7 separate regions of the Homo sapiens genome follow, and regions 1, 2, 4, 5, 6 and 7 are each linked to region 3. Evidence: promoter capture Hi-C in 16 types of primary human blood cells and fetal thymus (Javierre and others, 2016). All regions are on one chromosome and are shown on one strand. Each heading gives the region's core, a stretch centred on a gene start or on the middle of the fragment in contact. The rest is flanking DNA. Distances are from core to core; before and after follow the strand shown.

The links. Contacts are between HindIII fragments. The CHiCAGO score rates a contact against its expected background, and 5 or more counts as called.
Region 1: a fragment that was not itself captured here is called in contact with the fragment with the promoter of ECM1 in region 3 in 1 of 17 cell types (neutrophils); the score reaches 6.3 in neutrophils.
Region 2: a fragment that was not itself captured here is called in contact with the fragment with the promoter of ECM1 in region 3 in 1 of 17 cell types (fetal thymus); the score reaches 5.1 in fetal thymus.
Region 4: a contact is called between a fragment that was not itself captured here and the fragment with the promoter of ECM1 in region 3, in 1 of 17 cell types (neutrophils). The highest score is 6.8, in neutrophils.
Region 5: a contact is called between a fragment that was not itself captured here and the fragment with the promoter of ECM1 in region 3, in 2 of 17 cell types (fetal thymus and erythroblasts). The highest score is 6.2, in fetal thymus.
Region 6: a contact is called between a fragment that was not itself captured here and the fragment with the promoter of ECM1 in region 3, in 1 of 17 cell types (total B cells). The highest score is 5.1, in total B cells.
Region 7: the fragment with the promoter of ANXA9 here is called in contact with the fragment with the promoter of ECM1 in region 3 in 1 of 17 cell types (neutrophils); the score reaches 5.1 in neutrophils.

Annotation. Positions count from the first base shown.
Region 1 is chr1:150,839,287-150,842,385 of GRCh38, reverse strand. It overlaps ARNT (aryl hydrocarbon receptor nuclear translocator), which reads left to right. Exons shown (of 22, transcript NM_001668.4): 6 at 2,732-2,945. Among named protein-coding and RNA genes, the nearest start is that of CTSK, 33 kb to the right of the region's middle. The HindIII fragment of the contact is 6,848 bases long and covers 1-3,099 here.
Region 2 is chr1:150,961,700-150,964,879 of GRCh38, reverse strand. SETDB1 (SET domain bifurcated histone lysine methyltransferase 1) reads right to left here. Exons shown (of 22, transcript NM_001366418.1): 17 at 2,722-2,750; 18 at 2,161-2,293; 19 at 1,741-1,906; 20 at 1,139-1,350; 21 at 797-885; 22 at 143-633. The coding sequence ends at 516. Among named protein-coding and RNA genes, the nearest start is that of CERS2, 12 kb to the left of the region's middle. RefSeq lists a cis regulatory region at 27 and an enhancer at 1-99. The HindIII fragment of the contact is 977 bases long and covers 1,171-2,147 here.
Region 3 is chr1:150,506,382-150,509,398 of GRCh38, reverse strand. It overlaps ECM1 (extracellular matrix protein 1), which reads right to left and starts at 1,290. Exons shown (of 10, transcript NM_004425.4): 1 at 1,120-1,290. The coding sequence starts at 1,189. TARS2 (threonyl-tRNA synthetase 2, mitochondrial) reads right to left here. Exons shown (of 18, transcript NM_025150.5): 18 at 1,797-2,483. The coding sequence ends at 2,335. The HindIII fragment of the contact is 8,833 bases long and covers 1,270-3,017 here.
Region 4 is chr1:150,944,031-150,947,112 of GRCh38, reverse strand. SETDB1 (SET domain bifurcated histone lysine methyltransferase 1) reads right to left here. Exons shown (of 22, transcript NM_001366418.1): 9 at 2,005-2,195; 10 at 101-227. Among named protein-coding and RNA genes, the nearest start is that of SETDB1, 19 kb to the right of the region's middle. RefSeq lists a cis regulatory region at 2,932 and an enhancer at 2,860-3,004. The HindIII fragment of the contact is 8,160 bases long and covers 1-3,082 here.
Region 5 is chr1:150,998,629-151,001,895 of GRCh38, reverse strand. MINDY1 (MINDY lysine 48 deubiquitinase 1) reads left to right here. Exons shown (of 10, transcript NM_001376665.1): 3 at 114-171; 4 at 582-646; 5 at 1,281-1,439; 6 at 1,932-2,034; 7 at 2,385-2,527. Among named protein-coding and RNA genes, the nearest start is that of MINDY1, 6.6 kb to the left of the region's middle. The HindIII fragment of the contact is 1,422 bases long and covers 720-2,141 here.
Region 6 is chr1:150,856,177-150,859,236 of GRCh38, reverse strand. ARNT (aryl hydrocarbon receptor nuclear translocator) reads left to right here. Exons shown (of 22, transcript NM_001668.4): 2 at 777-888. Among named protein-coding and RNA genes, the nearest start is that of ARNT, 19 kb to the left of the region's middle. The HindIII fragment of the contact is 364 bases long and covers 1,194-1,557 here.
Region 7 is chr1:150,980,967-150,984,285 of GRCh38, reverse strand. ANXA9 (annexin A9) reads right to left here and starts at 1,994. Exons shown (of 14, transcript NM_003568.3): 1 at 1,907-1,994; 2 at 1,703-1,799; 3 at 1,106-1,196; 4 at 852-948; 5 at 217-311; 6 at 1-5. The coding sequence starts at 1,180. LOC105371438 (a long non-coding RNA gene) reads left to right here and starts at 2,781. Exons shown (of 3, transcript XR_922135.3): 1 at 2,781-2,865; 2 at 2,973-3,082. RefSeq lists an enhancer at 609-1,470. The HindIII fragment of the contact is 18,662 bases long and covers 1-3,193 here.

The sequences.
Region 1 (3,099 bases), core at 450-2,949, 330 kb before region 3:
ATGCTGCTTTTTCTATCCTTTTTCTTACTCTTTCTTTTCTTCCCCTTTCTCTTTGTATTTTTCCTTATCTGTGGCAAGAGAGGACAAGATTTTTTAGAAGTTTGAGTGTAACAGGAACTTTGGCTTCCCCCATCAGAAAGTGGGTGAGTTGAGGGAACTTTGCTTAGGGATTTAAGAAATTGCTATTAGTTTTAAGTTTTTTTTTCTTTTTCTCTTTATGTCAGTACTAAGTTTCACAGAACAAAAAGCTCTTAGAAGGAATGCAACCGTGCCAGTTGGTGCTTTAACAGGGAAATACTCTTTTTATCAGAAAACCAATAAATATATCTGTATTTGTGATTAGTTCCCAGTATTTAGGCCTCAGCATTTACTCCACACCTCTAGGAAACTCACACCTATTTTCCTATGAAGACTCACAGCCTAGATTATTCTCACAACAGAACTAGTGTTGCTTTGGTGACCGAATCCTTTCTTGCGGTAGTTTTCTAGAAAAGTTTTAGTTTCCTTGATGTGGCTATTTAAAAGACCAGGTTTCTGTACTTACGTGTCAGAAATCTGTCAGATACTAGGAAGATGAGTGCTTTATGTTTGAGAATAGAATTTTATGTCTTAGGCAAAGTGTAACTAAATATGGGCCTATGTGGTGAGACCCTTTTTGCCATTTAGAAAGGAGACTCTAGAATTCTCTTGGGAGACTGTTGTTTGTAATGTAGAAATGCTGCAGAAGAAATATGCATAGACTTTTCTGTTTTCTAGTATCTGTGATTTGGGGGTGACTTAGGAAATAGATCATTGATGCCAATACCCATTTTTACTATATTCCCCCTTTTTTCTACTATTTCCTCTTTAATCTGGGTCACAAACTCATTTTGCTGCCAGTTTAACTCGAGCTTCTTACTAACCCTTTCACTGTTCAGAAAATGGATTTGGCATGATGTGGTGGAGAAAACATTGTATTGGGAAGAGAGCAGCCTGGGGAAAGTCACTTACCTACTTGACCTCCCTTTGCTCTTCTCAGAAAAAAGAGATTTATGTTAGATTTTTAATTTTCTTACTTTCTTTTTTTTTTGGACAAAGAACTTTTGTTCAAGTAGAATTCTTAAGTGGTAACAGAAATAAATAAAAGAGATAAAGCAGGCCGGGCGCAGTGGCTCATGCTTGTAACCCTAGCACTTTGGGAGGCCGAGGCAGGCAGATCACGAGGTCAAGAGATGGAGAATATCCTGGCCAACTTGGTGAAACCGCGTCTCTACTAAAAATAAAAAAAAAAAAAACTGGGCGTGGTGGTGTGCGCCTGTAGTCCCAGCTACCTGGGAGGCTGAGATAGCAGAATTGCTTGAACCCAGAAGGCGGAGGTTGCAGTGAGCCGAGATCCCGCCACTGTACTCCAGCCTGGGTGACAGAGCAAGACTCCATCTCAAAAAAAAAAAAAAAAAAAAAGAAGAAGAGAGATAAGGCAAATATTTGAGTAGAAGCAGAAATGCAGCATGTTGCATGATTATCTCCTTGAGGCATCCCCATGGAGGACACTGAGAAACTTAATGGGCTTTTAAAAATTCCTGTTGGAAAACTGCTGGATTATTCCTGTTAACAGTGATATCTTTCTGTCTTAATTTTGAGGAAGTCAGTGTTGGAGCTGTGGTCTATTTACCTGGGTGAGATTCAAATTGTCTTGTCAGACCTTTAATCATCCTCCTCTCCATTCCACTCCTCCAGTTAACTTCGTCCCAGACTGGGGACCCATATGGGACTTTTAGTAGATGGTGTATCTTAAGTCTTGTAAGAAGTTTAGTGCACTGGCAGCACACCCAGATAAAGAAGGTAGGACTTTGTGCATTAATGGGCCAAATAAAACTTCAAAATCTTCAAATTCTGCCTTTTAATGTTGCAAATAAGAGAGAGGCTTACCATATTTTATAGACCAAGGAAATCTGTACTATCAATTCTTGTATCAGCTATGGAGCCACATACTTGAGTTGGCAAAAATTGGTCCTTTTATTTTCTGGCCTTTAAATAGTTGAATTAGTAAGCATGGGAGTTAACCAAGCTGAGGTTATATGTTCCATAGGAACTTAAGTGAGTAAAATCAGCATTTAAAAATACTATCTTTTTTTTTCTCTTGTTTTTTGTTTTTTGTTTTTTTTTGAAATGGAGTCTTGCTCTGCCACCCAGGCTGAAGTGCAGTGGTGTGATCTCAGCTCACTGCAACCTCCACCTCCCAGATTCAAGTGATTCTCCTGTCTCAGCCTCCCAAGTAGCTGGGATTACAGATGCATGCCACTGTGCCCTGCTAATTTTTGTATTTTTAGTAGAGACAGGATTTCACCATGTTGGCCAGGCCGGTCTCAAACTCCTGGCCTCAAGTAATCCACCTGCCTCCATCTCCCAAAGTGCTGGGATTACAGGCATGAGCCACCATGCCTGACCTGTCGTTTCTTAAAACAGCTTTTGTTCTGAGGGAGTGGTAATTTACAAAGGATGTGAAGTTTCCAGGAAATAGGGGGAAGGGAATTACATTATCTTCTTGTTCTCTGTCTGCCTTATTAGTTCTGTTTCATGCTTGCTTTGCATGAGAAGGTTGGCAAACCTTATTTTAACTGCTGAGACTTAAGCATCACTAAATCTGAATACCACATTCTTCAGCAGCACACTTGGTATCCATATCACTCTCCCTGCTACCAAATGACCAGATGTGACCACCTGGATGGGGCTTCTCTTTCTTTCCATGCAGGGAAAATCACAGTGAAATTGAACGGCGGCGACGGAACAAGATGACAGCCTACATCACAGAACTGTCAGATATGGTACCCACCTGTAGTGCCCTGGCTCGAAAACCAGACAAGCTAACCATCTTACGCATGGCAGTTTCTCACATGAAGTCCTTGCGGGGAACTGGCAACACATCCACTGATGGCTCCTATAAGCCGTCTTTCCTCACTGATCAGGTCTCTGGGACTTATAGTTCTGAGAGAGTCTGGAATCTGGGTGAATCTCTTGAAAGTTTTCGTTTTTTGGACAAGAATTCAGCTTTTCAGGAAGAAGTCAGACAATGGGAAAACGAATTTCAATCCTTGGCTATAACATTAATTAGCATTGGGA
Region 2 (3,180 bases), core at 410-2,909, 460 kb before region 3:
AAAAAATTCACATGCAAGAAGCAAAGGTAGACAAGGTAGAAGATGAATGACAGCAGCCCACAGGGGAGGATGGGGATAATACCTCACTGAAAGATCCAGAATTGGGAGTATCGGGCTGAGAGAGAGAAACAAAACCACAATCTTAGTTTTATCATATTGTTAAAAGACTTTCAAGAAATAATACAAACTGGAGATAGTAGATACACAGGCTCCATTCTAAGAACAAAGTCTGTTAGAAGCAGGAACACTTGGACAAATATGGGATGGGAGGGATGTCAGGCCGAGGTTAGAGTGGTGATCTCTCCCCACCCTTTAGGGCCTTTGGAGGTGGAGAAGGGATCCTGCCTGCTAGCACCACATTGGAAGGGATCATCTGGTCCAGAACCCCCATTTCTATCAACTAGGAGCTGGGGGGAGTAGCTAGCCCAGAGACTTCGGGTCAGGGTTCAACAATCAGGAAGACCCAGTTCCTGAGGAAACGACAGTTCAAGAAGGGTTGGGAAGAAGGCTGTCCTCTAAAGAAGACGTCCTCTGCATTCAATGGCCCCACAGCAACAGAGTAGCTCCTTGCCTTCCACACTGCCCACCTCGTAGTTGTAGTCCCAAGTAAGTTCTGTCCCAGCCCGGATTCTTCTGAAGAGGAAGAAAAGGATGGTGTGTGGCAAAGACAGCAGATAACCCAGGCACTTGGGGTTACTGAATATGTAGGTGGAGTTGGATCATGAATGGAGGAGGGGCCCTTAGAACTTCAGTGGTCCTTGCCCCTCCCCAGTCATCCCCTTTCCTGACTCCTTACTTGCTGGCAAAGAAGGCCACCCAGGGGAAGCGAAGATCATGGGTATCCACGAAGACATTCTGGACAAACAGGTTGGGGCTGCAACTGTGCTGTAGGTTTAAGGACAGGATCAAATAAGAACCAGGGAAACTGAACCTGGCTTTGCAGGGAGAGTGAGAGTTGGAAGAAAAATGATGCCATCTGACCCTCCCCATTATAATAGATGCTTTGAAAGAAAGCTACCTCTTTAAGATCCTTTGAGATCAAGAGTTTATAACAAGAAAAGGGCTTATAGAGTATGTTAAAAGAAATCTGAGGACCATGGGATAATCCAGCATCTAGAGGTGGGGAGAGGGGTCTCACGTTGAGGTAGCGGCCCAGGTTGCCTTCAAGCTTGGCATCAATGATGTAGCAAGACTCCTCGCCATCATAGAATTGGCGTGTGTTCTTACGAACAGGTGCGCTCTCCCCCTTGTCCACAGAGGCCATGTTGGTTGATTTAATTGCAATCCCATGGGTTGATTTAAGAGCAAAGCCTCGGGTTGATTTTACTGCCACTTGACGCTTCATTGGACCTGGACAGGAGGGAGAATGGGGTCAGGACCCATCCCAACTCATGAACAGACATTCTATCATGAATGGACATTCTACCCCTATTTCTCTCCCAACATTGCAGCTGAGAAACACCAATAAGCTGGAACTCAAAGATCCTAAGTAGCAGGTTTTTTTTTCAAGCATAATTAGATCTGCTAGACAAAGGAGCTGAGGGGAAAGAGTAAAAAAATGGAAATGAGAGAGGATGTGTCAAACAATAGTTTAGCTTGGAGTCAGAAAGCCCTCCCAGAGATGCTCCAATTCTTAGGATCTGAATTTTTACCCACTACTTCTTTAGCTTCCTTAAAAAATGCTCTATCCCAAGTTTCTTACTATTTCTTCCCACCATTCCCAAAATTTTTCCAGGCTACCAGTCATGTTCTTCTTGTCCTCAAAGTCATCCCCTTCAGAGCCAGAGGATATGGTCTGGATATCATCACTGTCAACCGCTGTAGCCGAAGTCTGACCAGCAGTGGGCTTTCGGCTGGTCCCACTTTCCCCCTCACTTTCTGTGCTGCTGGACAGTGTCAGGACATCCTGGGGAAGCAGGAGGGTAAGAAGTAAGAGAAGTAAATGGGAAGGGCTCCTTTAAGTCCTTGCTGTTACCCACGGTTTGGCAGGAAAGGGCGGTGGCAAGAGGAAGATTAGATGCTGGATGAAAGAAAATAAGGCAGGAAGTCAAGGCTAAAGAAGTAGGAGAAGACCTAACAGTAATTATAGTGAAGGACTTGATGAGGTGACAATGGCCCATTTTCCTTTATTAGACTCTGAATAAGCTTGAGGTGACTTACATCAGGGTTGGACTGAGCAGAAGCCATGAGTCTTCGGCTTTGATGCATACTAGTCTTACTAGGTGGGCGGCGAAGTCCTTCAGGCTTCACAGGAGAAGGATTGTAACCGTAATTTCGAGAGCTTTCAGTAACTCTAATGGGAGGGGAAGGAATGAAGCCAACAGGTTACTGGCTGTTTCTTAGGCTTCTAGCCTAGGTTTGAGAGAAGGCAGATTTGGAGACAGGTCAAAAAGACAGGCACTGGGCTGGACACGGTAGCTCATGGCTGTAATCCCAGCACTTTGGGAGGCTGAGGATCCCCTTTGGGAGCATCGCTTGAGCCCAGGAGTTCAAGACCAGTCTGGGAAACATGGTGAAACCCCGTGTCTACAAAAAATACAAAAACTAGCCAGGCATGGTGGTGCACACCCGTAGTCCCAGCTACTAGGGAGGCTGAGGTGGGAGAATCTCTTGAGCCTGGGAGGGGGAGGTTGCAATGAGCTGAGATTACGCCACTGCACTCCAGCCTGGGTGACAAAGCAAGACTCTGTCTCAAAACAAAACAAAACAAAAGGCACTTACACTGACATCTTGTTTCGGTCGTCAGTGTCCTGGAAAAGAACAAGTGAAGGGTTAAATGCTTTCACAGCCTCGGGTAACAAGTCCAATAATCAGACTTCAAATGACCTCCACAGATAACATCAGCCAGTGACAGGTACACATTCTAAAGTGGGGTGGGTAAACCACTCTGCAACTTGACAGAAATCCTCACTACACTCCCTGGCTGGAGCCTTTAAGCCTTCTCAGTGATGGGGCTTAATGCTCATGGAAAACACCACGAGCAGGATTACATCAACCAGGGACAGTTTCACCATCTGTAATGTGGAAAGCAGCATAATCATCAAAGAGATACTTAAAATCAATTCTTGTTTCTCTACTTTAGTAGAAGGAAACAATGATGTGAATAACTTGAAACAGCATTTAACATTAAAAAATCACTTATAAATCTTTCATTTTGTAATTAATCAGATACTTGTCCAC
Region 3 (3,017 bases), core at 41-2,540:
TGCCCCGTGTCCCCTAATCCTCTCCCAGCCCCAACACACCTAGACATGACCAGCTGGGTTCTGAGAAAGCCTGTGGCGGTCTGATAGCTCCACCTCTACTGGCTCAGAGGTTGGGCCTAAAGGGAGTATGGCATACGGGATTGGGGAGGGAGGCCCTCATTTCCTCTGCCAGTCTTTCCCTCAGGGCTGTGGGTTGTCCTCCCCAGTCTCTGCTGGGATGCGTCTCTAGCTTTCAGAGGAAAAAGTCTGGACCTTGAGCTGGTTGGAGCCTACCCAATCCACCTCCTCCACCCACCCTCCTACTCCAGGCCCTTGAAACATCTTTAGGCCTTTGGTTAAGGAGGCTTCCTGAAGGTTGAGTGCTTCCCCTTCAGCCAGTCTCAGCTCCGCCTTAGTTTAGGTCTCAATTTAGGGCCTGGGGGACTGGGACAGGCACAGGGAAGGGTCACTTGTAGGTGATCTGCAGACACAAAAGACCAGGAGCTGGGAAGAATGATGGCATGGGGCTTCACAGAGAAGTGGACAGATTTGCTGACATCCTCAGCAGCTTCCTGCAGGAGTGCCCTGGGTGGTTTTTTTCCTTTTCTTTTCCTTTTTTTCTTAGTTTCCACCCATAGCATTGAGGGGTTCCTGTTTTGTTCAGGCATCAAAGCAGATAAAGAATGTGTTTGTGCTGGATGGAGGGTGGGTCTGTGGATGGACACCCCTCAACTCCTCTAATCAGACAGGGAGTCAGTCGAGGCTTGCTGGGCCAGCAATCCGGTTTTGAGCAGCCTGGGGGCCCCTTTTCCCTCCCTTGCCTCTCCCACCAGCCACCTCCCTACATCCTCATCAGCAGGAGACCCTCACTCTGTGAACCCACCCCCCACTCAGTTGTCTATTTGACTGGGATTCTGTGTTTCTTGGCAGCAGTTTCTAGGAACCCCTCTCCTTCTGTGCCCCTGCTCTCTGCCTCCTTGGTTAAAGGCTCCACTGGCCTAGGCCCACTTTGGGCCTGCTCAGAAAAGGAAAGCCAAACGGAGAATCACTCTGCTAGTGATGAGCCGTCTGGGATGCCTGGACCCAGACCCCTGCCATGCAAGCCCAGACCCCCTCCTAAGTGCTGATCCCCCAACTCACCTCCCTCAGAGGCAGCAGAAGCAACAGCCAAATAGGTCAAGACCAAGGCTGCTCTGGCTGTGGTCCCCATCCTGGGGCAACTGACCACTGGACACTCAGAGGTGGGTCCTCTCAGGCAAGTCTGGATGTGAAGGGCCGGCCACTGAAGCTTGTCTGGTGGCTGTTACGGTTGTGAGCTTCAGGACCAGCTCTTCTTTTATAATTGTCTGGTGTGATCTCCCGCCCTCCTCAGCTTCCTGCCATGACTCAGTCCCAGCTGCTCCTCCTCTGGAAGCCACTCCTCCCAAAGTCACCCTGAAGCCTCCTCAGAGGATTGAGAAGAATGGGACTGATTAGAGGAGAACATTCTTATGACCTTCAAGAGAAACTGATTCAGAGAATCCAGGAGCAAGAGGTGTTTGAGCCCCTAGTTTGTGCCTCAGTTTCTCCATCTACAGGCTGCCTTCTGTGGAGAGGGGATCTGCCAACTCATGAACTGGGGTTGGGGAAACAGGGCACAAAGGAGTTTACAGCGGGGAGCAGGAAACCTATCCAAGGGATCTCCCCTACCAGTGTGAGGTCTGGACTGTCCCTTTTCAATTTCCCTAACTCTCTGGGACAAAAAAGAGGGAGACAAAGTGGAACATCCTTTTATCCCACCTCTCCAGAGTCAGAGATGAAGACATATGACCAGCAGCTTCCAGTTTGTATTTATTTATTTATTTATTTATTTAGAGACAGAGTCTCGCTCTGTCGCCTAGGGGGGTGCAGTGGCGCAATCTCAGCTCACTGCAACCTCTACCTCCCGGGTTCAAGCGATTCTCCTGCCTCAGCCTCCTGAGTAGCTGGGATTACAGGCGTGTGCCACCATGCCCGGCTAATTTTTTGTATTTTTAGTAGAGACAGGGTTTCACCGTGTTAGCCAGGGTGGTCTTGATCTCCTGACCTCATGATCCGTCCGCCTCAGCCTCCCAGAGTGCTGGGATTACAGGCATGAGCCACTGCGCCTGGCCCAATTTATTTTTTTTTGTAGTTTCATTCTCCTCACATCCAAACAGCTACAGCTTCCCTCCTTTTGTGGGGTCCCCAAACCAAGTCTCTTTTCAGGAGAGCAGACATGTGCCTCCACACAGTTCTGAAGTTCTGGGGGCTCCACATTGTCAGCTGGGTTGGGGTCTCCCATGTGAGGGAGGCTGATGGCACTCGCAGGTTTTTGCCTCATCTATGTACAAAGGCTCAGAAAATTTCTTCGGCATTTGGGACCCTCGTGTTCTGTAGCTCCACCAGTCGCTGCACAGCCTCAGGCAAGTCCCACTCCCCAAGGCGACGATTATCTCGAGTCCGAATGTTCACTGTTCTCTTACTTTGCTCTTTCTGGCCAACCACTGCAGGTAGAGGAAGTTTGGGAACCTCAGGGCAAATTCACCCACATGGAACAGTTTCTTTTGCTCTGCAGAAACTTGAGAGACCTAAATCTTTAGGAAGGGTGGGAGCAGAGCCCAGATATGGTTCACAGAAAGGAAGTATTCAGCTGTGTCTGCTAATACTAAATGACCAGTCCTGCTCATCCTGAGGAGACAAGGAAGTGCTTCAGTCCCCGCAGGCCTTATCGCTTCTGGTCAAGAGCCCCAGGGTCAGAGACATAAGAGTCAAGCAGAGAAAGACAAACACTGAGAACCCCACAGAGAGAAACTGTGTGTGTGTGTGTGTGTGTGTGTGTGTGTGTCAGAGACATTAGAGTCAAGCAGAGAAAGACAAACAATGAGAACCCCACAGAGAGAAACTGTGTGTGTGTGTGTGTGTGTGTGTGTGTGCGCGCGCGTGTCTGAAGGGGGTATTAGAGCAAGTGGAAGGTGGCAGGAGTGGTGTGGCCTTCACACTGCCCCGCCTCCCCCCAACCACTCTGACCCTTAGAACAG
Region 4 (3,082 bases), core at 576-3,075, 440 kb before region 3:
ATACAGTGTAACCATGCTAATCAAAGGATAGCCATTGTATATAATCTCCTTTGCTGGTTGGCCTGTTTCTTCCTTCCTCCAGGAATCTTTCAGGACATACCCATATTTGGACGTGTCCTGAGCTGTCCTTGCTTCTTCTCCAGTGCAGAGGCTGAGGATGTTTTCATGCTGAACATGGGCTCCAGCCGTGTAGAGCCTCGATAGATCCACTCACATCTTTTGTCATCCTGGGGAATTGAGAGAAAAGAATGAAGGGAAATAGCTTAAAGGCTAGAATCTATCCTGTCCTGTGTAGAGGATATATACCATGTGTCACCTCTGGGAATCCTCCCTGATGAGCCTTAAATTCCTTAGTCTAAGCTAAGCACAGTGGCTCACGCCTGTAGCTTGTAATCCCAGCACTTTGGGAGGCTGAGGCAGGTGGATCACCCGAGGTTGGGAGTTCAAGACCAGCCTGACCAACATGGAGAAACCCCGTCTCTACTAAAAATACAAAATTAGCCGGGTGTGGTGGCGCATGCCTGTAATCCCAGTTACTCGGGAGGCTGAGGCAGGAGAATTGCTTGAACCAGGGAGGCGGAGGTTGTGGTGAGCCGAGACTGCACCATCGTACTCCAGCCTGGGCAACAGGAGCGAAACTCCATCCCCCCCAAAAAAAAATTCCTTATCTACTTAATAAAGTATGTGCCAGGATCCATGATGGGTATCAGGAACACAACAATGAAAAATATATACTCCTTGTTTAAGGAATTACAGGAGCAACAGATATCTATACTGAGTATAAGAGGTATGACAGCTGGGCACAATAGCTCACACCTATAATCCTGGTATGTCGAAAGGATGAGGCAGACAGACTGCTTGAGCTCAGGAGTTCGAGACCAGCCTGGGCAACATGGCGAAACCCGTCTCTACTAAAAATACAAAAATCAGCCAGGTGTGGTGGCATGCACTTGTAGTCACAGCTACTTGGGAGGCTGATGTGGGAGGACCACTTGAACCCTGGAGGTTGAGGCTGCAGTGAGCTGTGATTGCACCACTGCACTCCAGCCTGGGTGGCAGAGTGAGACTGTCTCAAAAAACAAAACAAAACAAAACAAAACAAAACAAAACAGGCCAGGCGTGGTGGCTCACGCCTGTAATCCCAGCACTTTGGGAGGACAAGGCAGGTGGATCACTTGAGGTCAGGAGTTCGGGACCAGCCTGCCAACATGGTGAAACCCCGTCTCTACTAAAAATACAAAAAATTAGCCAGTCCCAGCTACCCGAGAGGCTGAGGCAGGAGAATCACTTGAACCCAGGAGGCGGAAGATGCAGTGAGCCGAGATCGTGCCATTGCACTCTAGCCTGGGCAACAAGAGTGAAACTCCGTCTGAAAACAAAACAAAACACCAAACAAAAAGCATGATAAGGATCATAAGGCCTTAGAAGTAACGGGCTGAGGTAACACCAAGAAGAAATATAACTTCTAATTTCTTCTGGCTACTCTGGGCACACTGCCTATCAGGTAGCCTTGTTCTGCAAGCAGCAGTATTAAAAAATGTTTTTAAAACTTTTAAAAATAAGAAATATGATTCTAAGAAGGGAGAGAGAAGGGAGAAAAGGATGAGTACAAAATACCTAAGAGTTAAACTGAGCCTTGAAAGATAATCAGGACTCCTTGATCCCTCTTCTTCGTCCCACTATCCTACTAAAACCTTAACCCTGGAAAAATGGAATTGGCTGCCCTTTCTGTACCTACACACAATGTGAATACTCCTAAAGAAAAAAAATAAATAAATCAAAACCATGCAGATTCGTATTATAATTCAGATAATTTATTTTCAACAATGACCTGCAGAGGAACAACAAAAAGGGCAAAGTAAAATTTGACCAAAAACAGTGAGAACACATACGAGGATAAGAAAGAGGAAGGCTATGGAATAGCTATAAAACCATCCTCATTACTGCTTCTTAAGTTCCCCCCCCACCAACCTCTGCCTCCAAAATTGTAGAGAAGAACAGTACCAGGAAGAGGATCCTGACTAGGCTGCCATCCACCTCCTCAACTCGGGACTTCCACCACGTGCCTTCCCACTCAGTCTTGATAAGCTGGCCACTCTTGAGCAGTACCATGGGGCGGTTGGGGTAGGCAGTGACATACTCCTCTATGAAGTCACGGCAGGAGATGTCTTCTATGTCCTCCCAAGTCTTTTTCACTGTTTCAAGGAAGAAGTAGAACTGAGAGGGCAGGTAGGGCATGTCTTGATAGGGAAAAGACTTGGCCAGGAGACATTTGATACTTTTTAAGTTGAAAAGGAGAGAAAAAGTAAAATCAGAACCTCAAGGGAAGCAAAGCCAAGACCACCTAAGTAATAAACCTAATGTACAAACTGTACATACTTACAAATCAAGTAAATACTAAATAAGAAATGTACAATATAGGTGATTCACTTATTTTACACAAATGGATGTTTCTCCTCTGGAAAATTCAAGTGGAAATTCTTGCTCACTTGTTGATCAGTCTAGTGGTAAATTTAAAAAGATCAGGTGGCATCATGAAATGAAAAAAATTAGTCCTTCCTTCTCATTCTCTATCAGGTTTTTAAGAGACTCAGAATGTGTTTACTGTCATGTTATGTGTAAACAAAAGTGTTAGTTGATTCTTCTGCAGTTAAAAATGATTGTTTCCATAGGAGTCTGCTCCCAAGCCAGGGTAACAAATATAGTGGACACTATGAGGTTCCATCTAACACAGCTTCTGTGGAAAGCATTATGCAGACTACACATTTATACAAATGTTAGGTGCAGTATGACACTAGGAAAGAAGTAACACCTTTTCCAACGTAACTCACTTAGAAATGAAATTGAAGCACATCTATAACGTGAGCAGTCTACTCAAGGCCATTCATGATCTTCTAGTGTCTCACTCTTTGTCTACAAAGACCCAGTCCTGGAGATGAACAATAAAACTGTATCTCTTTTGGGAGCAAACTGACCTTTGGGAGCAAAAGACATCAACCAAACTTATGCTCTTTGAGACTGAAATACCAAAAACACTAGGGCTTTTCAACTGGATGTCCTAAGAAGAAATACAAGGTAGAGG
Region 5 (3,267 bases), core at 181-2,680, 490 kb before region 3:
GCCTTTTTTCCTACCCCACCCTACTACTGGAGCTCCCCCTTGCCTTTCCATGGGTTCTTCCTTCAGTGCTCTTTGGAGGAAAGCACACACGTGATCACCCCTTCTGCCTCCAGGTGAAGCTCCCCCCGCAGAAGGAAGTGATCACATCGGATGAGCTCATGGCCCATCTTGGTGAGTGACTGGGCGTTGAAGAGGAATTACCCAAGGGGCTCCAGAGCTATCCACTCAGCCAGAAATCCAGACTATTCAGGGATCTCCATTTGGGGGTTCTGATACAGCAGGGAGGGTAAGGGTCTATGGGGCTTCTCTGCAAGGCTGGAGAATGAAAAGCAAAGGCGTCGGGAGTCCTGGGTTGTAACACCAATTCTGCCCTTAGCTTTTGTATCTGACCCTGGGTGGGCCGTTCACCTTTATGAGGCTGTCGCCTCCTCTGAGAAATGAAGAGTCTGGATTAGACTCTAAGTATTTTCCAGCTCTGAAAATCTGTGTTCTGTGACATTACCCGCATTCTCCAGGAGAAGAGGAAACTTAGCTTTTGGGATGATTGGTGGGGTAAGCTGATAAGGGGCCCTGTCTTGTAGGAAACTGCCTCCTGTCCATCAAGCCCCAGGAGAAGTCAGAGGGACTTCAGCTTAATTTTCAGCAGGTGAGGCAAAAGGTCTGCAGGCATAGGGGTTTGCAGGTTTGTAAGGGGACATCTTGTAATACTAAGATAAGCTTTTGTTGCTTCTTCAGAGGTTTCCTTGAACCATGATTTCATTCTGCAGGAGTCAGAGGAGAGTTTATCTTTGTCCTAGAAAATATGTTCATTGGCCGGGTGCTCACACCTGTAATCCCAGCACTTTGAGATGCCAAAGCGGGAGGATCACTTGAGGCCAGGAGTTCGAGGCCAGCCTGGGCAACATAATAATACCCCTGTCTCTAAAAAAAACCATTTTTTTTTTCAAGAATTAGCCAGGTATGGCGGTGCGTGCCTGTAGTCCCAGCTACTCAGGAGGCTGAGGTGGGAGGGTCACTTGAAACCAAGAGTTTGAGGCTGCAGTGAGCTAGGATCACACCACTGCACTCCAGCCTGGATGAAAGAATTAGACTTAGACTCTCAAAGAAAAACAATGTTCATTTATATAAGATAGAGAAGGGTTGAGGCAAGGGAGAAATGGAGTGGCTTGTAAGAGAATCAGGGAAGAAGAGCAGCAAGGTTAATTTTTAATTTCTGCAGGTGGGAGTGGAGTGGTGGGAGAGAAGGCTAGAATCTCCATCATTTTTTTTTCTACCCCCAGAATGTGGATGATGCAATGACAGTGCTGCCTAAACTGGCCACAGGTCTGGATGTCAATGTGCGATTCACAGGCGTCTCTGATTTTGAGTATACACCCGAGTGCAGTGTCTTTGACCTGCTAGGCATACCTCTGTACCATGGCTGGCTTGTTGATCCACAGGTGAGGGTGGGAGGGCCCACTGGGACCTTATCCAGCTCAAGCTGACATGAGAGAGGCAAATTTTTGTCGGGTAGAGGTTAGGGAGTTAGGGGTTAGATTGGCTTGGGAGGGAAATAGTGTTTAGAGACTGGACCCAGTACAGAATTCCTTGAATTTTAATCTATTTTGGGGGTAACATGCAAATACAAGCAAACTACATGCAAATAGGTCAGTTCTTTAGACATCAAAAATTCAGGAAGCAGATGGGTTTGGTGGCACATGCCTGTATTCCCAGCTACTTGGGAGGAGTTCGAGGCCAGTCTGGGCAACATAGCAACCCTATGATGAATGGTTCCTGAAATTTTTTTCTTTTTTGAGAGACCAAAAAAAAAAAGTGTTTAGGAACCATTCATCACAGGGTTGTAGTCCTTGTGAGCTTTGTTCATTTCCTTCCTTAAAAAAGAAAAAAAAATCCCAATTTTTTTGGTATCCCACATCCCACTACCCAAGCAGAGTCCTGAGGCTGTGCGTGCAGTTGGGAAACTGAGTTACAACCAGCTGGTGGAGAGGATCATCACCTGCAAACACTCCAGTGACACCAACCTCGTGACAGAAGGTGACATTCCTCCCCTTCTCATGGATAGTATGTGGAGGGAATGACAGCTACTTAGGCTTATTTTTTATTGGGTGTCATCTCCTACCACATCCCACTAGATATAAGCTTCACAAGAAGGAGCTTGGGGAATTTCTGTTTAGTTCATTGAGGTATCCCCAGTGCCTGGCACAAGGTAGCTGCTCTATTATAAGTATTTGTTAAGTGAATGAATACAGCCAGGTTTCAAGAAAGGGACGTCAGAAGGTGGGACTGACCCCCCGGGGCTTTTGACAGGGGCTCTCTGGATGGTCCTTCCTGTTGTGGACCTTGAATTTAAGCCAAGTTTCCCCCGACTCGTCCCTTTCTGGCAGGCCTGATTGCAGAGCAGTTCCTGGAGACCACCGCGGCCCAGCTGACCTACCACGGACTGTGTGAGCTGACAGCAGCTGCTAAGGAGGGTGAACTTAGCGTCTTTTTCCGAAACAACCACTTTAGCACCATGACTAAGCATAAGGTAATGCGAGTTTGGGGGTGGCGTGCTGCGGTGCTGTCATTTCCTGGTGCCTTTTTCTCGTGGGTCCAGCTGGGATCAGCTAGATTAAGCCGTGGTAGCAAGTGACCCCTCAAATCCCTGTGGTTTACCACAACAAAGGTTCATTTCCCGCTCCTGGTGCGTGTCCACTGTGGACTGGCTACGGTTCTGTCCCACACCATCTTCACTCTGGGACCCAGCTGACAAAAGATCCTTTATCTGGAATATATGTGGGAACAGAGAGAGAGAGGGGCACTGTGCACTCATGCTTAGAGCTTCTGTTTGGAAATGACACATGTCATTTCTGCTCACATCTTCTGGCCAGAGCAAGCCATAAGGGATAAGCCTGCCGTCGATGGGACAGGAAAGTATGATCCTCCCCTAGGAGGGGGCAGTGGAATTTTTAAACAATGCTGGTCTTCAAAAGTTAGAAACTGCCAAAGCTCTCTAGGATTTGAGCAGCAGAGGGAGGGGTCTCTGGTTCTCAAAGGATTTATCCTAAGAGCCATCAGGCAAGCCCAGAGAACAATGGGAAATGGGGGGAGCAGGGTCTTATGTGGCATCTCAGCCCCAACGACTCCATGCCACGCTTAGCCAGAATGACCACCGTGCTCACACCCAACTGGACATACACTCAGACATCCCTTTCTTCCCCCCAAGGCCACACATATTTGTAAAAGGTCCGCATGCTCAGGGTCCGGGTGCGGTGGCTCATGCCTGTA
Region 6 (3,060 bases), core at 126-2,625, 350 kb before region 3:
TTTACTTTACATAATTTTCTTTTAAGTATTGGAATTTAGGTGATTTTTCCTTTGGGGTTTTCTGTATTTTCCAATCACAATAAATAAAATAAGTTATAAATATTTGTTGCATGAATGAAATGTATAAACCCATTTATGTATGTATTTTTTTAAAATTAGTATATTATTAAGTCTATACAATATTAGTATATTGTTATGTATGTATAAGCTTTTTAACATGAAGTTTGCAGAATATAGTACTTCTTCCAAACTCTATGACATGGGGGGAACTGAAGTATGGGGATATCTTGTACCAGTGTAAGAATTCAAGAAGAGACCGTGTGTGGTGGCTCATGCCTATAATCCCAGCACTTTGGGATGCCAAAGCAGGATGATCTCTTGGAGCTAGGCGTTCAAGACCAGCCTGGGCAACATATCAAGACCCCATCTCTAAAAAAAAAAAAAAAAATTAACTGGGTGTGGTAGTGCGGGCCTATAGTCCTAGCTATTCCAGAAGCTGAGGTGGGAGGATTGCTTGAGCCCAGGAGTTTGAGGCTGTAGTGACCTATACCAGTGATTATACCAGTGCACTCTAGCCCAGGCAACAGAGTGAGACCTGGTCTCAAAAAAAAAAAAAAAAATCAAGAAGAGCAATCTGGATATGAGCATTTGGGATTTTTAGCAAACTGCTGAGATTTTGTCTATAGCTTGAACCTTTCTTTTAGCTAACTTGATGATACTGATGATAAGCAAGGACTGTCTTTTTAAAAATGTTTACTTCATTATTTTCCTGACAGAAATGACATCAGATGTACCATCACTGGGTCCAGCCATTGCCTCTGGAAACTCTGGACCTGGAATTCAAGGTGGAGGAGCCATTGTCCAGAGGGCTATTAAGCGGCGACCAGGGTGAGTTTGAGTGTAGTGTGTTATGAATATCTCTCCTATAAACCAACTTTAGTTGCTGAATTTATTTAGTTGCTGAACTCACTTCGCTATTCCTGACCATCTCACTTCAACTTGATTACTTACTACACTACTGTCATATAAGTCTCCTTAGTCCCTGTATTTTTGTTTATGAAGAATTTGTTTTTATCCAAGTTTCCCGTAAGCAGTTCTTTTTTTAAACCAAAATTTCCGTAAGATAAAGGACTGTAGCTAAGCCCAGAGATTTTACTATGCCTGAGAAAACTGTTTGCTGCTTTCATTAAGCTTTGTTTCTGTTTTCCCAAAATCATTTTGGTAGGCTGCTTTTCTGAATTTAGAGAATGCTGAGCTCTAGAATAGCTGTCTTCTAAGTTATTGATATGTTGCTTGGTTTGGAATGCAGAGTCCATTCAGCTCCAAAAGTATTTATTAAATTCCTAATTAGTGTTATGGCATTGTGCTGATTCCAAGTAGGATACAAAGATGAATAAGACACAGTCCTTGTTTCTAAGTTGGTTGTGTTCTGATAGAAATAATTATTATACACATGAATATATGATAGAATATGCCTAGTTTTGTTAGGAACAAATTTGATACTATGTTTTTCTGTGTATGGAAATATGCATTTGTTGGTAAAGACTGAGAAAAGCTTCAGAAAGGAGGTTGCCTTAGAGGGGCCTGGAAGAATGGGCACTATTTTATTTACTTTTTGGTATTAAATTTTCCTTTTTCCTTCTTTTTCTTTTTAAAAATTGTGCAGCTAATTATAACCAGTCTTTAAGTTTTGTCCCACCAATAGTAATGGAAGAGTGATGCTTGGGTTCAGTGGTAACATGAGTAACATATTAAGACTTGTTATATGTTCAGTAGCTTTACAGATTTTAACCATTTGCTGAAGCATAAGCTGAATAAGTAACTTTCTAAGATTGTAAAGCTAGTAAGTGTCAGATATAGGATATGAACCTTAGGGGTTTAGCTTTGTAGCTTACTCTTTAAACACTGTGTTATGTTTATGTACAGTAACAAACAAAAGTATTATAAATATCAAAATTAGGGCATCACTTGAGAAAGTCATAGTATATTTAAAATGGAATGCTATGTAGTTATAAGCGACAAATATGTTTCAGTGTAGAAAGATGTTCACAATCTATTAAGAAAGGTTACAGTATTATAGTATTTCACTGTCAAAAGATATGTATAACATGTACATAGGAAAAAACTGAAAGAATATATACCACATTTCTGGGTAATAGTATTATGGGTGACTTACGGTTTCTTTTGTTTTTGATTTTTCAGATTTTTGAAATGAACATGTATGATTGGTAATCAGAAAAATATATTAAAGGAAGTCTTTAAAAATTTTCTTTTTGGTTTTTTTAGAGACAGGGTCTTGTACCCTGGCTGGAGTGCAGAGGCACAATCATGGCCCACTGCAGCCTCAAACTCCTGCTCAAGCAGTCCTCCTGCCTTGGCCTCCCAAAGTACTGGGATTACAGGCGTGAGCCACTTCACCTGTCCTAAAAGAAGTCTTTTAATATTTCTTTTATTTTTATTTACTTATTTATTTTCGAGGCAGAGTCTTGCTCTTTTGCCAGGCTGGAGTGCAGTGGTGTGATCTTGGCTCACTGCAATCTCCACCTCTCTGGTTCAAGGGATTCTCCTGCCTCAGCCTCCCAAGCAGCTGGGACTACAGGCGTGCGCCACCACGCCCAGCTAATTTTTGTATTTTTAGTAGAGATGGGATTTCACCACGTTGGCCAGGCTGGTCTCGAACTCCTGACCTCAGGTGATATGCCCACCTTGGCCTCCCAAAGTGCTGGGATTACAGGCATGAGCCACCATGCCCGGCCTAATATTTCTTTTATTTATTTATTTTATTTTTTATTTTTTTGAGATGGAGTCTCGCTCTGTCGCCCAGGCTGGAGTGCAGTAGTGTGATCTCAGCTCACTGTAACCTCCACCTCCCAGGTTCACGCCATTCTCCTGTCTCAGCCTCCCGAGTAGCTGGGACTACAGGCGCCCGCCATGATGCCCGACTAATTTTTTTGTATTTTCAGTAGAGACGGGGTTTCACCGTGTTAGCCAGGATGGTCTCGATCTCCTGACCTCGTGATCCACCCGCCTTGGCCTCCCGAAGTGCGGGATTACAGGCAC
Region 7 (3,319 bases), core at 745-3,244, 470 kb before region 3:
AGGTCCTACAATAAATGGTCCTCACAGCAGAGGGACGGGGGTGAGGGGAAGGGCCCCAGAAGTGTGGGGAGGTTTGGGAAGATTTGGCTGGTTTTCATCTCAGGCCCTGTTTAGCCAGGAAGCAGGGGCTGGCCTCAGCGGCTGTTGCTGTCTCTCGAGTCCTCCAGGGGGTTTCTCACCCCAGTCCACTGCTGTGGGAGGTCAGCATGGCCTCACCTGTTGGGTGCGCTCCTGGAAGTTTCGTGAGATGAGCTGCCTTTGCTCTCTGCTCCGGTTGGTCAGCACGTCCACAATGGCACTGCGGTCCACGCCTGAACCGAGATGAGGGCTGTGCTGTGAGCAGGGTCTTTACATAGTGGGATGTTCCTACTCCTTGGAGGAGGGAAGGCGCTCCAGGAGAGGGCTGGGAAGGAAAGGAGCAGGGGCTATATCACCCCCACTTCCATTTTATCTCAAAAGAAGTTGCAAATAAAATGTCAAAACAGCATGCAAATCTGACCCAGACCAAGGCAAAGGTGGCCTGGTGTGGTGGTTAAAAAAAAATACGACTTGGGGGGATCGGCTGACCTAGATGAGAATACCACCTCCGTCATGAGCTGAGTGACCTTGGGCAAGCCTCTTAATCTCCCTGAGCCCCAGTTTCCTCATCTGGAAAATGGAAATAATAAGCCTTGCCTCACAGGGGTGTTGTGAGAATGGGTTTGACACACCTACTGTGGCGCCTGACATACAAGAATGAAGGCATTCCACAAACATTTCTCCAACATCACTAGTTCCTCCTTCCTGGCTCCTCCTTGGTCTACAGATTGGCTCTAAAAGGCAGTCTCAAGTGCCGGGGGAAAGGGGCTCACCTTGGCCAGTAATGGCCCTCAGTAGCCTCTGCGCATCCTTGTCCACGCTGAAGTTCAAGAAGGTCCTGAGGGTGCCCAGGGTCCCCCACGCTGCAGTCTGTGGGAGCACAGGGTAGTTGGCAAGGGCCAGGGCCAGGCTGCCTACACCTCCTCAGCATAACCTCAGGGCCTGTCCTCCACTTTCCTGCCTCCCATCCTCTCACAGCCCGAGCTGAGATACTAAAAGTGATCTCTAAAATCCCAACAGCCCCTACCTTGCTGGCCAGGCCCAGGTGGCTGAGGATCTCCTGGGTGAGGGACGGTGCCATCTTCCCGCCAGTCACAGACATGGTGCTACTGGTTGCCCTGGGGAAGGAAACAGGAGCCCACAGAGCTGAATTTCCTGGCCCTTCAGGGACTCCTTATGACCCCCCCGAGACCCTGGACCCTGGGTTCCAGTCACCTGTTCCTTTCCTTGCTGCAGAAAAAAAGATCAACCTGCTTAGGCTTGGAGCCAGAAATGGAGCTGAAATGGTGAGGTAAGAGGGGAGCCCCCACCTTCCCCACCTCTCCCCACTCCTTTAGGAAGTGGGGATTGATGCGGAATGCTCCTGGACCAGGCGCCAACCCTCCCTGATGCCAGGGTCAGCACCAAAGCTCCTCAGGCCTTGGTCCGCGGTAGATGCCTCCCTTCTGAGGTCTATGGCCCTCCTTCCTGGGCCTGGCTGGGGTCTCCTGGGCAGTGCAGGGGAGCTGAGGTGAGGTGGCAGGATTAACCACGCAGAGTGGAAGACAACTCGAAATAGCATCTTCCCCCACCGGCAGCCCCAGCTGACAAGCAACCCTCAATTCCTGCCTGTACAGCTGCCTACCTGCTCAGCAGCACAGGAGCACAGGCCGGAATCTCTAGGTCAGCAGGTGCAATCTCTTAGCTGATGTGAGCAAGAGTTCTTGCAAGTACGTGGATGCCTGGACAGAAAGGAGGCACTCTCATGTTGGAAAAGGAAAACTCATTTTTCCCTCCCCCAAGCAATCAACAAGCCCTCCTGGCATGGGGCCGTGGGCCCAGTACTTACTCAGAGGTGCCAGAGGTGAGGTGGGTGTCGTTGTTGTGGCCTGGTAGCTTGCCTGTGTGAGCACTGCCTCCGGTGTGGCCTGGTAGAGGAAAGTGGGGGTGTGTGCAGCCTAGGCTGAACAGCCAGTCAGATGACCTCTCTTAGGGACGAACCCAGCAGTTGTCTGACTCTGGCCCCTCCCAGACGTGGGAGAGGACCGGGCTGTACAGAGTCCCACATGCAGACACCTTCCTGCCCAGCATCTCTTCTCCCAGGAACTGGGCCTCAATCCATGTGAGTGAACTCCACTCAGCCTCTCAGCGGCTCAGCCTCAAACACAGGAGGCTTTTATGCACTGCCTTCCCTGTGGGTCCAGGTGGGACCACAGAGACCTAGTCTCAAAGTCCAGCTTCTGACCTGGCTCTGCCCCAGCTTCTGACCTGGCTCTGCCTCTGGCTCCAGCTCCCTGGGGGGCAGGTCAGACAGGCTGCAGGCTGATTTCAAGGCTGATAGGGAAAAACCTGTTGGGGCACATACCAGCAGGGCACCCCAGCCTGCACCCCAGAGGGGGTCCCAGCCCAGAAACTCCCTTGACTGCTGCCTTACTAGAGCCAGCTGACCTAGGTGGAGAGTGCCCAGGGATTGTGTATATCTGTGGAGAAGGAAGGGCACAAGTATTTGGGAGTGGAAGTTGATGAACAGAGTCAAGAGAGAAAAATGCAAAGGGTGTTACCTTCAGAGGGAAGCTCTATGCTCCCAAAAGGCAACAGGGAGATGGGGGAGGCTCCCTTGCCTGGTTTCTTAGATTGCTTCTGTTGCCTTTTGGCAGCCTGGGCCCTGTGGCTGTTTTAGCTGCAGGTGATGCAACCCCAGCAGCTGGACTTGAGGCTGTCTCTGCACAGAGCAGCAGGTGAACAGCCCTGTGGAGCCCCCGCCCCGCCATGCAGCAACTGCTCCAGCCTCACAGCTGGCTCCCTCAGGTCTAAACACAGCCTCTTTCCTGCCTCCCTGGAGAGCCTGGGTAGGGGCGGGGCACAGAAGCTACAGCCCTGCCTCCACTCACTCCTCTGCCTCTCTCCCAACTCAGGAAGGCCTTCACTGGCATTCCTACATCCCTGGAGGAGGGACCTGCAGTGGCTCCACCACACTGAGTAGACCATGCCGGAGGACACGCCATGAAAGGATATTTCTGTGGCGGTAATCACTGCTCCTCACTTTTCTCTCCTGTTAAAAGGAAAACATGCACCTGTGTCAGAACTGGAGAATGAGGGTTCAATATCCAGCTCTGCCACCTATGTTCTGTAAGCTTCGCTAGTCCTTTCAGCTCTCTAAATGGGAGGATTGAGAGAGACGGAGGCTGTGGGACATGCTGGGGCCTCCGAGGACAGGTTTCCTGGGATGATTAAATGAAGTAATGTGTCCACTAAAGAACTT